4 separate regions of the Homo sapiens genome follow, and regions 1, 3 and 4 are each linked to region 2. The links are contacts of gene promoters, found by promoter capture Hi-C in human tissues and cell types (Jung and others, 2019). All regions are on one chromosome and are shown on one strand. Each heading gives the region's core, a stretch centred on a gene start or on the middle of the fragment in contact. The rest is flanking DNA. Distances are from core to core; before and after follow the strand shown. Region 1 overlaps TBC1D31 (TBC1 domain family member 31). Region 2 holds the start of C8orf76 (chromosome 8 open reading frame 76). Region 3 overlaps ATAD2 (ATPase family AAA domain containing 2). Region 4 overlaps LOC124902013 (a long non-coding RNA gene).

Region 1 (2,700 bases), core at 200-2,699, 160 kb after region 2:
ACAGTAACATGTTAATGGTAGAATCTAGATACTGAATGTACACGTGTTCAAAAATTCTCACAAATCTACTGCATGTTTCAAATTTTTCATAATAAAATGTCAGAGGGTTAAAAATGAAAACAAAAGCAATCAACTAAATAACTTTCGCCTTAGGACAGTTGAAGTTACATAGCTATAATTTTAGAAAAGAGCTCACTAAGTTATAAATTGTAGCTATAGGCAACATCTTTGTGTTGGCCACTTTGCTTTGCTTGTTGCTGAGTTACAGAGCTACAAGGACAAAGTGAATCATTACTCTTATATCATCTATACATCCTGTTGACCAAGAAATTAGCCCGAGAAGCACAACAGACCAAGATGTACCCCCTCACTGACCTTCTGTATACCCACAGACTGGCGAATATTCAGCTTTCTTTTTCTCTGAAAGGTATCCAAGTCCCATAATTGTGCTGTATCAGAAGAAGTTGTGATGGCATATTTCCCTGATGCATGCACAGAGATCGAAAATACTGATGATTCATGTCCTCTCATCCAGCTAACTAGCTCCTTGGTGACTGTGGTAAAAAGTAAAATTGTTACCCAGGTAAAACACTGTACGTCTAGAAGTAACATTACATATAAACACCATAGATGAACTGATGCAATGGGTGGTTAGGTATTATATGAGGCACCTCCATTAATATCCACAAAAATGGAAGCTTGTGGCTAGTTGATAAAGTGTATGACGGAACATGTTAGCAACATCTCATTCATGTAGGAGACAAGGCTGACAAAGGCTTTGATGAAGAATAACTTCAAAATTGATGCTAGTGAGTTTGGGCTTTCTCTTGCAGGTAATTTTATGTAAAAGAGTACCATATCTAGTCTATGTTTTAGAAAGAGCACTTTGAGGATATCTGGTGGAGGGGAAGAGATTGAACAAGAAAGACTAATTTATATGTTGCTGTAATAATTCAGACAGGAGATATGGAGGGCCTCAACTAAGAAAGAGGCAATGGAGAAAAGAACAAATCCAAGAGCTACTAAGGAGAAAAACAAAAAATATTAGTGATCAAATTGATGTCCTGAGATATAAGAGAAGTGAAGGCTCCAGTGGTTCCAGCTTAGTTATTTAAGCAGATGGTGATACTGTTAGCGGAGGTAGGAAATACATGAGGAGGGGCCGGGCGGTGGCTCACGCCTGTAATCTCAGCACTTTGGGAGGCTGAGGCAGGTGAATCACTTCAGCCTAGAAGTTCGAGACCAACCTGGGCAACATGACAAAACCCTATCTCTAAAAAAATAAAAAATAAAAAAAAATAATAAATACATGAGGAGGAACAGGTTTATCAGTGTGAGATACTGATAATACATTTGGTTTTTAAACTTGATTCTGATGTACTTGTGTGTATCTTTGTAAGCAGAGAAAACAGCTTGGTAGGGAAAACACCAAAAACACCAAAGCTTGGGTCGACTCCCTGCGTCAACAGTGCTTGGCGCAGATGGCCAGCCACACACCAATGCTGGGAGTGTCATCTGAGAGGGCAATGCATCCCTGAGGACAATGGAGGCTTCCCTTTTGGAAGCCTCCCAAATTCCACCCCATGTTTCTCTTCCTTTGGCTAGTTATACTTTGTATCCTTTTGTTATATTAAAACTGTCATTAAGTGTAGTGCTTTCCTGAGTTCTGTGAGTTGTTCTAGTAAATTATCAAACCTGACAGTAGTCAGGAAACCCTGACTTTGTAGTCAACTGATCTAAAGTGAGGCTGTTTCTAGGACCCTCAGCTTGCACCTAGTGTCTGAAGGGAGGGCTGTCATGGGGACTGCCCCCTCAAGCTGTACAGAGTGATAAAGTTCTTGCAGTTCTTCAGTTTATATTTTACTCTGCTTCAAAAGAAAAATAGGAGAACTTCTTACCTGTATCAAAACATTTAATAGAATAATCAGCTAATGCCACAAGGAATTCAGATTTCCTACGAAGATTAAAGGCCAGAGCTGTGCAAGCTTGTGCTGTTCGCTGAACAAGATTGAACCTATTAAGAGATCATTGCATTAGTATCACAAATTCTTCCAATAATTACAAATTCCATGTGGAAGGAGTCCGTAGAGACGAAGAAAATGAAACCCAGAAAAATGAGCTACCATTTTAGGCCAAAAATAGATTATGAAGGGTGCTATGTGCCATATTAAGGAGTTTGGATGTTATCAGAATAGGAAACCACTGTAAGTGTTAGCACAGCAGAATCACAATCAGGTATGTGTTTTAGGAAGACGATCCTGGCAGCAATGGCAAATGGATAGAGGGACAAGGAATAAAGGAGATCACTAAGAAAGTTACTACAGAAAATCTCAGCCAGAGATATGGGAGCATAAATAGGAGAGGTTTCAGAAGCCAAGCAGAGGTTCGGTATGGATTCAACATGGAGTGAAGAAGAGGGAATCAGGACCCGATCTTGCGTAAAATGAAGATAAGAATAGATACAGGGCTGTTGTGATGACTAAATGAAAGAATACATGTTGAGTGCTCAGTAGAGTACTGGGCACCTAGCTGGAGTTTAATTTACAAAAAATTAAGCTTTTGAACTTAGGCAAAAGAGGAATAAGTTTGGGGGTAGGAAATAATAAACCTGCTTTTAAACATGTTGTTTAAGGCCCTTGTGAAACTCATCTAGAGTCATGCTGTCTGAAAGAAATACAACGTGGGCTACATACGTAATTT
Region 2 (2,724 bases), core at 27-2,526:
AAGAATTGTAGTAAATGTTAGTCTTAGAATTTTGAGATTTGGTGTTCTCCAGGTCGAATGAATGCTCCCTGATCTAGCCTCCCACGGTATATTTCTGTGTCTTTTCTTTCATAAATGCGTGAATGACTCCGGTCTTTGTTATTGGTGGTAGTGTCTCTTGTCCGGAAGCACGGAGAGTACGCATTCATTTCTGTATTTCCCAAGTTTCAGCCACATAATGACCGAAACTTAACAAGTTACTTAACCTCTCCAAACTCCAATATCTTCAAAATAGGATTTGCAAAATGGGAATCACTTTGGCTTTCATAAGGTGGTTGTTAGCCGAAAAGAAAAAATGTGCTTAACACAGTGACGGGAATGCACAGTGGTTGACAATTGGTACTTGCACCGGGCTTAGTGGCTCACGCCTATAATCCCAGCACTTTGGGAGAACGAGGTGGGCGGATCGCTTGAGATCAGGTTCGAGACCAGCCTGGGCAACGTAGGGAAACCCAGTCTCCACAAAAAATACACAAGTTAGACGGTCATGGTGGCGCGCGCCTGTAGCCCCAGCTACTTGGGGGACTGAGGCGGGATGATAGGTTGAGTCTGGGAGTTCGAGGCTGCAGTGAGCCATGATCTCACCACTGCACTCCAACCTGGGCGACAGAGCGAGACCCTGTCTCGAAATTATTTTATTTATTTTATTTTATTTTATTTTTTATTTTGAGACGAAGTTTCACTCTTGTTGCCTAGGCTGGAGTGCAATGATGCGATCTTGGCTCACCGCAACCTCCGCCTCCCGGGTTCAAGCGATTCTCCTGCCTCAGCCTACCGAGTAGCTGGGATTACAGGCGCGCGCCACTACGGCCGGCTAATTTTTGTATTTTCAGTACAGACCTGGTTACTCAATGTTGGTCAGGCTGGTCTCGAACTCCCGACCTCAAGTGATCCGCCCACCTTGGCCTCCCAAAGTGCTGGGATTACAGGCTTGAGCCACCGCGCCCGGCCTCTTATTTTAATTTTTAAAAAGGTACCTGCGAGTTTTAAACAGCTACTCTGGGGCCAGCGTGCTTTTTGATGCGTGCAGGTAAGGATCATTCTGTCCATCTCCTGACACAGAGAAGTCAAAACCTCCGTCCTGGGGTTCGGTCAGTTAGTGGGTCAGATAATCATCTCAGCTCAACCACTACTCCCAACCAGCAGCGGCCACGTCCCCGCGTCGCCCTCAAAGACTACAAGTCCCAGCGTGCCGCGCTCTGGGCCGTGGAAGCCCCGCCTTTTCCGGCGGGCCCCGCTTCCTCGTTGCCCCCGCCGCGGGCGCGAGATGGATTCCGGGTGCTGGTTGTTCGGCGGCGAGTTCGAGGACTCGGTGTTCGAGGAGAGGCCGGAGCGGCGGTCAGGACCGCCCGCGTCCTACTGCGCCAAGCTCTGCGAGCCGCAGGTGAGAAGCTGGGGCCTCTTCGCCTTATCCCGGGCCCCAGGCCTCGCCCTCCGCGGGGCCCCGGCCCCGGCCTCGGCCCCTCCGTCCGCGCGAACGCAAACCCTGGCAGGCTCCAGCGCCCGCCGCGTCCCCCGCCGTCCCTCCTCCTCCACGGGGAAGCGGCTTTCCCAGGCCCCATTCCGGGTCCATGGGCGAGAATCCCCGCGTTGTAAGCGGCTTGACTCCCACTTGGCATTTGGCCGGCCTGGCTGCTGCCGGCTGGTCTCAACGCCCCTGCCCTGCAATCTCCGGTACCTCCCGTTTGTCTTCACTGCTCTTACAGCTGGGCAGTCAGGCCTCCCAAAACGGTGACCTCCGGCAAACCCACTCTCCCCTCCCTCTTCGGCGAGCTCCCCCTGCCCGTACCAACCCCGCGCTGATGGTTAAAGTCCTTCAGTTATATCCGTTTTTCAAGGCACATCTTAAATGTCATCTCCTCTAGGAAGTCTTTTCTGATTTCGTCTTCCAGCCAAATATTTTTGTCTTTGGCCCCCTTCCCTCTATTTAGCTTCTACTTAAAGCACTTGTCAGTATTCCCACAAAGTCCTGAGACCCGGAGTGCTAAATGATCGCACCAGCATGGGTTCTTGATGCCCTTGGCAGTGCCTAACAGTTTTTATTAATAATAGTGACTCCGCGAATATTTTTGAATTAGTAGAGTATTACTTCCTATTCTTTCATGAGTGTAAATAGTTCATCAGTCAAAACTAATATTTATGGAAAATACGGAAGTGTTCCGGGCACTGTGGTGGGTTCCTTCGCATATACTGTCTCATTCGTTCCTCACAATTGTACTGACAAGATGCCAGGCACTCGATAATTACTGAATTGTGTTTTTGGTTATTTCAGTTGCATTTTCTCCTTATCACATACGATCTTTCAAAGTTACCTTCAGCCCTGGATCATGTAGACTCAAAACAGGGATTGGGCTTGGAAATCATGTGGCAGAACATTAAAAAAACTCTGGTTATGAGATAGGACTCTTGAATTCCAGTGTTGGCTTTAACCACTTGCCTTGAAGGTGTCAGCTCCTTATTTGTCCCTTCAGAAAAATAATACATGCTGGCTCACAGAGTTATCGTGGGAGTGAAATGAGATAATGTATATGAAAATACTTTGTCAGATCTGATGTGCTGTACAGGTGCATAGAATTTAATATAAATTCTAAAATGAAGTGATTTTTTTCTTTTCTTTTTTTTTTTTTTGAGGTGGAGTTTGTTGCCCATGCTGGAGTGCAGTGGCGCGATCTCGGGTCACCCCAA
Region 3 (2,700 bases), core at 140-2,639, 140 kb before region 2:
CTTTTTTTTCTCTCTTTTAATTTGCATTTTCAGTCCACTTAACCCACTGCATTTTATGGTGATGTGAAATTTTTTTCTATACAAGCCATTTATTTGAAATGTCTACTATATGTAAGACAGTCAGTGTTAGCATGCTCATCAATAACAGTAGAAAAATAGAACCAGTGGAAACCTGTATAGCTGTAATGGTACTCAAAAGAGAATTGTATCCTTTTAAAATGTTTTACACAGGTGAATTCAAGTTTGGAGGTACCTAAATAAAAATATTACATATTTCTTTAAAAACGTTTATATACAATTAAAATATAAACAAGTTGTACAAAGTACTGGTTATGCAGGTTGTAGACAACACTTGAATGGGACATGAAATCAGTTTAAGAAAAATGTCTGAGCCTTAGTGGGCTTCTGAGCGCCAAGAAATAAAATGTTTGTGGGTAGAGTTGTTAGAATTAATGCTCTGTCAATCAAAACAAGAACATATTATCTACTTGGATTTGAAATGATAAAACTTAGAAAGTAAGATTTTAAAAAATTGTTTCGCTAATCTTTGTATCGTTCCAATTTTGTGAGCAAGAAAAGTAAGATTTTAGGAGATCTCACATGGTTGAAGTTCCCTTACCCACCCAATTAGTTCATGTGTCTGTGGATGTATCATAGTTATTGCTAAAGACAGTGTTCTCTTGAAAATGCCTTGCATGGGCCTGGCACATGGGTGCTTATTACATACTCTTGCTTTCTTGCCTCTGGGTTGGGGAGGCACTGCACTGCAAAGGGAGCCCCTCCATTCTGAAGACATTGCTAGGGGAGAGTCTGGACTTCTACCTGTGACCAGAGTGAAGGGAAAATTCTTGCCTTGTCAGAGATGGATCAATGACCATGAAAAATCTACCCTGTGATCTTTTTCAGTCTAAGCATTAAAAGCTCCTAAAGCAAAACAAACAAACAAAAAATCAAGACTGTGTTTTTGTGTATCGGTTGCATTGTTTTTATAAATGTAAGTATTGTTCATATAAATAAGTAGACAGTAATAAAAGGAGTTATGCTTAGCAGTGCCACCCAGTTTTTTTTTGTTATACATCAAAAGTCACTTGCCAAAAATGATTTTTAATGTTCTTTTAGCTTTATTAGGTCTCCTTTCAATTTTATTGAAAGCAGAGAATTGAAAACCACCTAATAAGGGAAAGTATTTGTTGCCTTTCTTTAGTCATTCAGTTTTTTTCTTTCTTTCTTTTTTTTTTTTTTTGAGACGGAGTCTCGCTCTGTCACCAGGCTGCAGTGCAGTGGCATGATCTCAGCTCACTGCAACCTCTGCCTCCCAGGTTCGAGCAATTCTCCTGCCTCAGCCTCCCAAGTAGCTGGGATTACAGGCACGTGCTACCACACCCAGCTAATTTTGTATTTTTAGTAAAGACGTGATTTCACCATGTTAGCCACAATGGTCTCTATCTCTTGACCTCATGAGCCCCTCGCCTCAGCCTCCCAAAGTGTTGGGATTACAGGCGTGAGCTACCACGCCTGGCCTAGTCATTCAGTTTCTTTTTTTTTTTTTGAGACTGAATTTTGCTCTTATTGCCCAGGCTGGAGTGCAATGGCACGATCCCGGCTCACCGCAACCTCCGCCTCCTGGGTTCTAGTGATTCTCCTGCCTCAGCCTCCCAAGTTGCTGGGATTACAGGCATGCGCCACCTCGCCCGGCTGATTTTTTGTATTTTTAGTAGAGACAGGGTTTCTCCATGTTGGTCAGGCTGGTCTCGAACTCCCAATCTCAGGTGATCCGCCAGCCTCGGCCTCCCAAAGTCCTGGGATTACAGGCATGAGCCACCATGCCCGGCTGTCATTCAATTTCTTAACACCTACACCAGTGTTTTTCTTTGGCTTTATGAAAGTTTTTAATACCTTGAAGTGTCTGCAATAGTGAAATTCAGAATGGGTGAGAGATAGAACTTTTTTTTTTTATTTAATTTTGTTTACTTTTAAAATTATATTTTAAGTTCTGGGATACATGTGCAGAATGTGCAGGTTTGTTACATAGGTATATATGTGCCATGGTGGTTTGCTGCACCCATCAACCTGTCATCTACGTTAGGTATTTCTCCTAATGCTATCCCTCCTCATGCCCCCCACTCCCCGAAAGGCCCTGGTGTATGGTGTTCCCCTCTCTGTGTCCATGTGTTCTCATTGTTCAACTCCCACTTATGAGTGAGAACATGCAGTGTTTGGTTTTCTGTTCCTGTGTTAGTTTGCTGAGAATGATGGCTTCCAGCTTCATCCATGTCCCTGCAAATGACATGAACTCATCCTTTTTATGGCTGCATAGTATTTCTATGGTATATATGTGCCACATTTTCTTTATCCAGTCTATCATTGATGGGCATTTGGGTTGGTTCCAAGTCTTTGTTATTGCAAATAGTGCTGCAGTGAACATGTGTGTGCATGTGTTTTTATAGTAGAATGATTTATAATCCCTTGGGTATATACACAATAATGGGATTGCTGGGTCAAATGGTATTTCTGGTTCTAGATCCTTGAGGAATCGCCACACTGTCTTCCACAATGGTTGAACTAATTTACACTCCTAACTGTGTAAAATTGTGCCTATTTCTCCACCTCCTCTCCAGCATCTGTTGTTTCTTGACTTTTTAATGATCACCATTCTAACTGGTGTGAGCTGGTATCTCATTGTGGTTTTAGAACTTTCTT
Region 4 (2,700 bases), core at 1-2,500, 230 kb after region 2:
GGTTCAGATGATCCTCCCACCTCAGCCTCCTGAGTAGCTGGGACCACAAGTGTGTGCCACCACACTCGGCTAATTTTTTGTATTTTTGTTCGAGATGGAGTTTCACCATGTGGCCCAGGCTGGTCTTAAACTCCTGAGCTCAGGCAAGTCACCTGCCTCGGCCTCTCAAAGTGCTGGGATTACAGGCCTGAGCCACGGTGCCCAGCCTTTCCCACGATTTATATGTGTGGTTTAAACCTAGGCTCCTTCCCGTACGGTCCCCTTATCTCACATCAACTCTGCTTGTTCCAGTAGGAACGCCGTGTTCGGGGCACACCTGGGCACTGAGCATTAATGTGCCAGGTACTTTATGAAAAAGCCTCCAATTTACGGTTTTTAAAATCTGGCTATACATAAGCATTAAACTTGAGATTTTAAAAAAATGCAGGTATCTTGGCTCATTCCCATTCTACATACTTTTGAAGTTGATTCTGACGTTCAGCTGGATTTGGGAACTTGTGTTTAAACAAACTTGTGAAATAGTATTATCCCCATTTTCCAGATGAGGAAACTTAAGCTTCAAGTCCCTTGATTAAAATCAGGCAGCGGCCAGGTACGGTGGCTCACGCCTGTAATCCCAGCTCTTTGGGAGGCTGAGGTGGGTGGACCTTCTGAGGTTGGGAGTTCGAGACCAGCCTGACCAACATGGAGAAACCCCATCTCTACTAAAAATACAAAAATTAGCTGTGCGTGGTGGCATATACCTGTAATTCCAGCTACTCGGGAGGCTGAGGCAGGAGAATGACTTGAACCCAGGAGGTGGAGGTTGCGGTGAGCCGAGATTGTGCCATTGCACTCCAGCCTAGGCAACAAGAACAAAACTCCGTATCAAAAAAAAAAAAAAAAAAAAGCTAGAAGGTGCCAAAGACAGGATATGAACCCAACTCTGTTGTGGCTTTTCAGTGAAGGAAGCCAAAGCAGATGCAAATAGACGATGTCTCTGTCTTCACGATGCGTCCTTTCTACTGAGGCAGTCAGCTTGGCCCATTGTAGGTACTCATATTTGTTTAATAAGCAAACAAGTCATTATAATACAATTCACCAAACTACCAGAATAAAAGGAAGTAAATTTCTTGGATGAGAGGCTAGGTCTTGAAAGATTGATGGACAGTTCTGGTCAAGATGGAGGAAGCCACTTGTTCTAGGTGGATTTAGAAACAGCAGCAGCAAGAGCAGAAACTTGGGAAGAGAGAACCGTGTGCCTGGACCTGTAGAATACAGGTAGGGAGTGGCAGGGAAAGGGGTTGGGAAGATAGATTGGGGCTTGTATCAGGAAAATCGTTTTGTGTGATTGCTTGAACTTCAATCTGCGGGCAGTGGGGAACATTGAAAGGCCTTCATGTTTGGTCTTTAAAAAGTAGCTGGCAGCCAGGTGTGCTGTCTCACACCTGTAATTCCAGCACTTTGGGAGGCCGAGGCTGGTGGATCACCTGAGATCAGGAGTTCGAGACCAGCCTGGCCAACATGGCAAAACCCCATCTCTACTAAAAACACAAAAAATTAGCTGGGCCTGATGGCAGATGCCTGTAATCCCAGCTAATCGGGAGGCTGAGGCAGGAGAATCGCTTGAACCTGGAAGGCGGAGGTTGCAGTGAGCCGAGATCGTACCACTGCACTCCAGCCTGGGCAACAAGAGTGAAACTTCCTCTCAAAACAAAAAAACAAAAAAGTAGCTGGCTGCCCCGTGGGGAGTAGAGGGAGAAGGCTGGAAAGAGGAGAAATGAGATAGTGACCACATTTTGTGTTGGTTGCTGTGATGCAGGTTTAAGGGAAGAGTTGGTTTAAACCAAGGCAGTGGGATTGGGGACTGGATTGGAGGGACCTCCCCCCAGACAGAGAATTGCTGGCACTCAGTGAGGAAAAGGAGGGCTTTCTCGAAGGGGTTTCCATTGGTGATCAGGGCTGGGATCTGTGTTTCACACACAAGCTGGGTAAAATGCTATTTCTGGCTGTTGGTGCTGCAGCCATTGTAGATAATTAGGTGCTGGCATCCTAACCTGGAAACCTAGCCACTATTTGTAAGTATATTTCTGTGGAAAAAACATTGAGCTCCAAATCCATCAACTTGAATGAAAATGAACTTTTAAAATATGATGTCTTCCTGAAATGTGAACAGCTTTGCAGAAGGCCCCAGTGAAGAAGAAGCAATTCTCTTGATTCTATCACCAGCATTTAGGGCCCAGTTTAAATGTCATTTCATCAAGGAGAGGGCTATTAGACCTGCAGGCAAGGTGAAATGTCTTCTCACGTAGCCACTGGCACCCTGATCTCTGCCTTTGACGCTTGTTCCACCTGTGATCATTTGCTTAATATCCCTCCCATGGCTTGTAACCATCCTCAGGACAGGGACTGCATCTTATTTACAGCTGTTTCCCAGTGCGTAGCACAGGCCTGCCACATACAGGTGCTTAAGTGTTTCTTGCACTGAACTGAAATTTGGCCTGTGTAGGAATTTGTCCTGCTTAGGGAGAGAGCTAATAATGGCCAAGTCTCCCAGGAGCATTGAATGATTTTTTTGTTGTTCATCTAAGGGAATCATAATCCCCTGAAACAGGATATTAGAACAGGTTAGAGATAATGGGAAGAATGGACTCAAAATTAAAATACTTAAAATAAATGAGCAGCAAAGCAGCTTCTATCTGCACTGTGTAATCTGCTAAT

Evidence for each region. The method cuts DNA at HindIII sites, captures the fragments that hold promoters and counts their contacts. A contact is called where the count stands out against the background at its distance.
Region 1: a fragment that was not itself captured here is called in contact with the fragment with the promoter of C8orf76 in region 2 in 3 of the 25 tissues and cell types used here (aorta, dorsolateral prefrontal cortex and mesendoderm cells).
Region 3: a fragment that was not itself captured here is called in contact with the fragment with the promoter of C8orf76 in region 2 in 1 of the 25 tissues and cell types used here (adrenal gland).
Region 4: a fragment that was not itself captured here is called in contact with the fragment with the promoter of C8orf76 in region 2 in 3 of the 25 tissues and cell types used here (aorta, bladder and hippocampus).

Annotation. Positions count from the first base shown.
Region 1 is chr8:123,082,016-123,084,715 of GRCh38, reverse strand. TBC1D31 (TBC1 domain family member 31) reads right to left here. Exons shown (of 22, transcript NM_145647.4): 3 at 1,899-2,014; 4 at 376-554. Among named protein-coding and RNA genes, the nearest start is that of TBC1D31, 11 kb to the right of the region's middle. RefSeq lists a silencer at 1,413-1,707. The HindIII fragment of the contact is 4,593 bases long and covers 1-2,700 here.
Region 2 is chr8:123,239,929-123,242,652 of GRCh38, reverse strand. It overlaps C8orf76 (chromosome 8 open reading frame 76), which reads left to right and starts at 1,276. Exons shown (of 6, transcript NM_032847.3): 1 at 1,276-1,423. The coding sequence starts at 1,307. The region is part of intron 2 of ZHX1-C8orf76 (ZHX1-C8orf76 readthrough); the gene reads left to right. RefSeq lists a silencer at 1,370-1,489 and an enhancer at 990-1,490. The HindIII fragment of the contact is 18,562 bases long and covers 1-2,724 here.
Region 3 is chr8:123,382,623-123,385,322 of GRCh38, reverse strand. The region is part of intron 1 of ATAD2 (ATPase family AAA domain containing 2); the gene reads left to right. Among named protein-coding and RNA genes, the nearest start is that of ATAD2, 12 kb to the left of the region's middle. The HindIII fragment of the contact is 6,595 bases long and covers 1-2,700 here.
Region 4 is chr8:123,009,654-123,012,353 of GRCh38, reverse strand. The region is part of intron 1 of LOC124902013 (a long non-coding RNA gene); the gene reads right to left. Among named protein-coding and RNA genes, the nearest start is that of DERL1, 31 kb to the left of the region's middle. The HindIII fragment of the contact is 7,383 bases long and covers 1-2,700 here.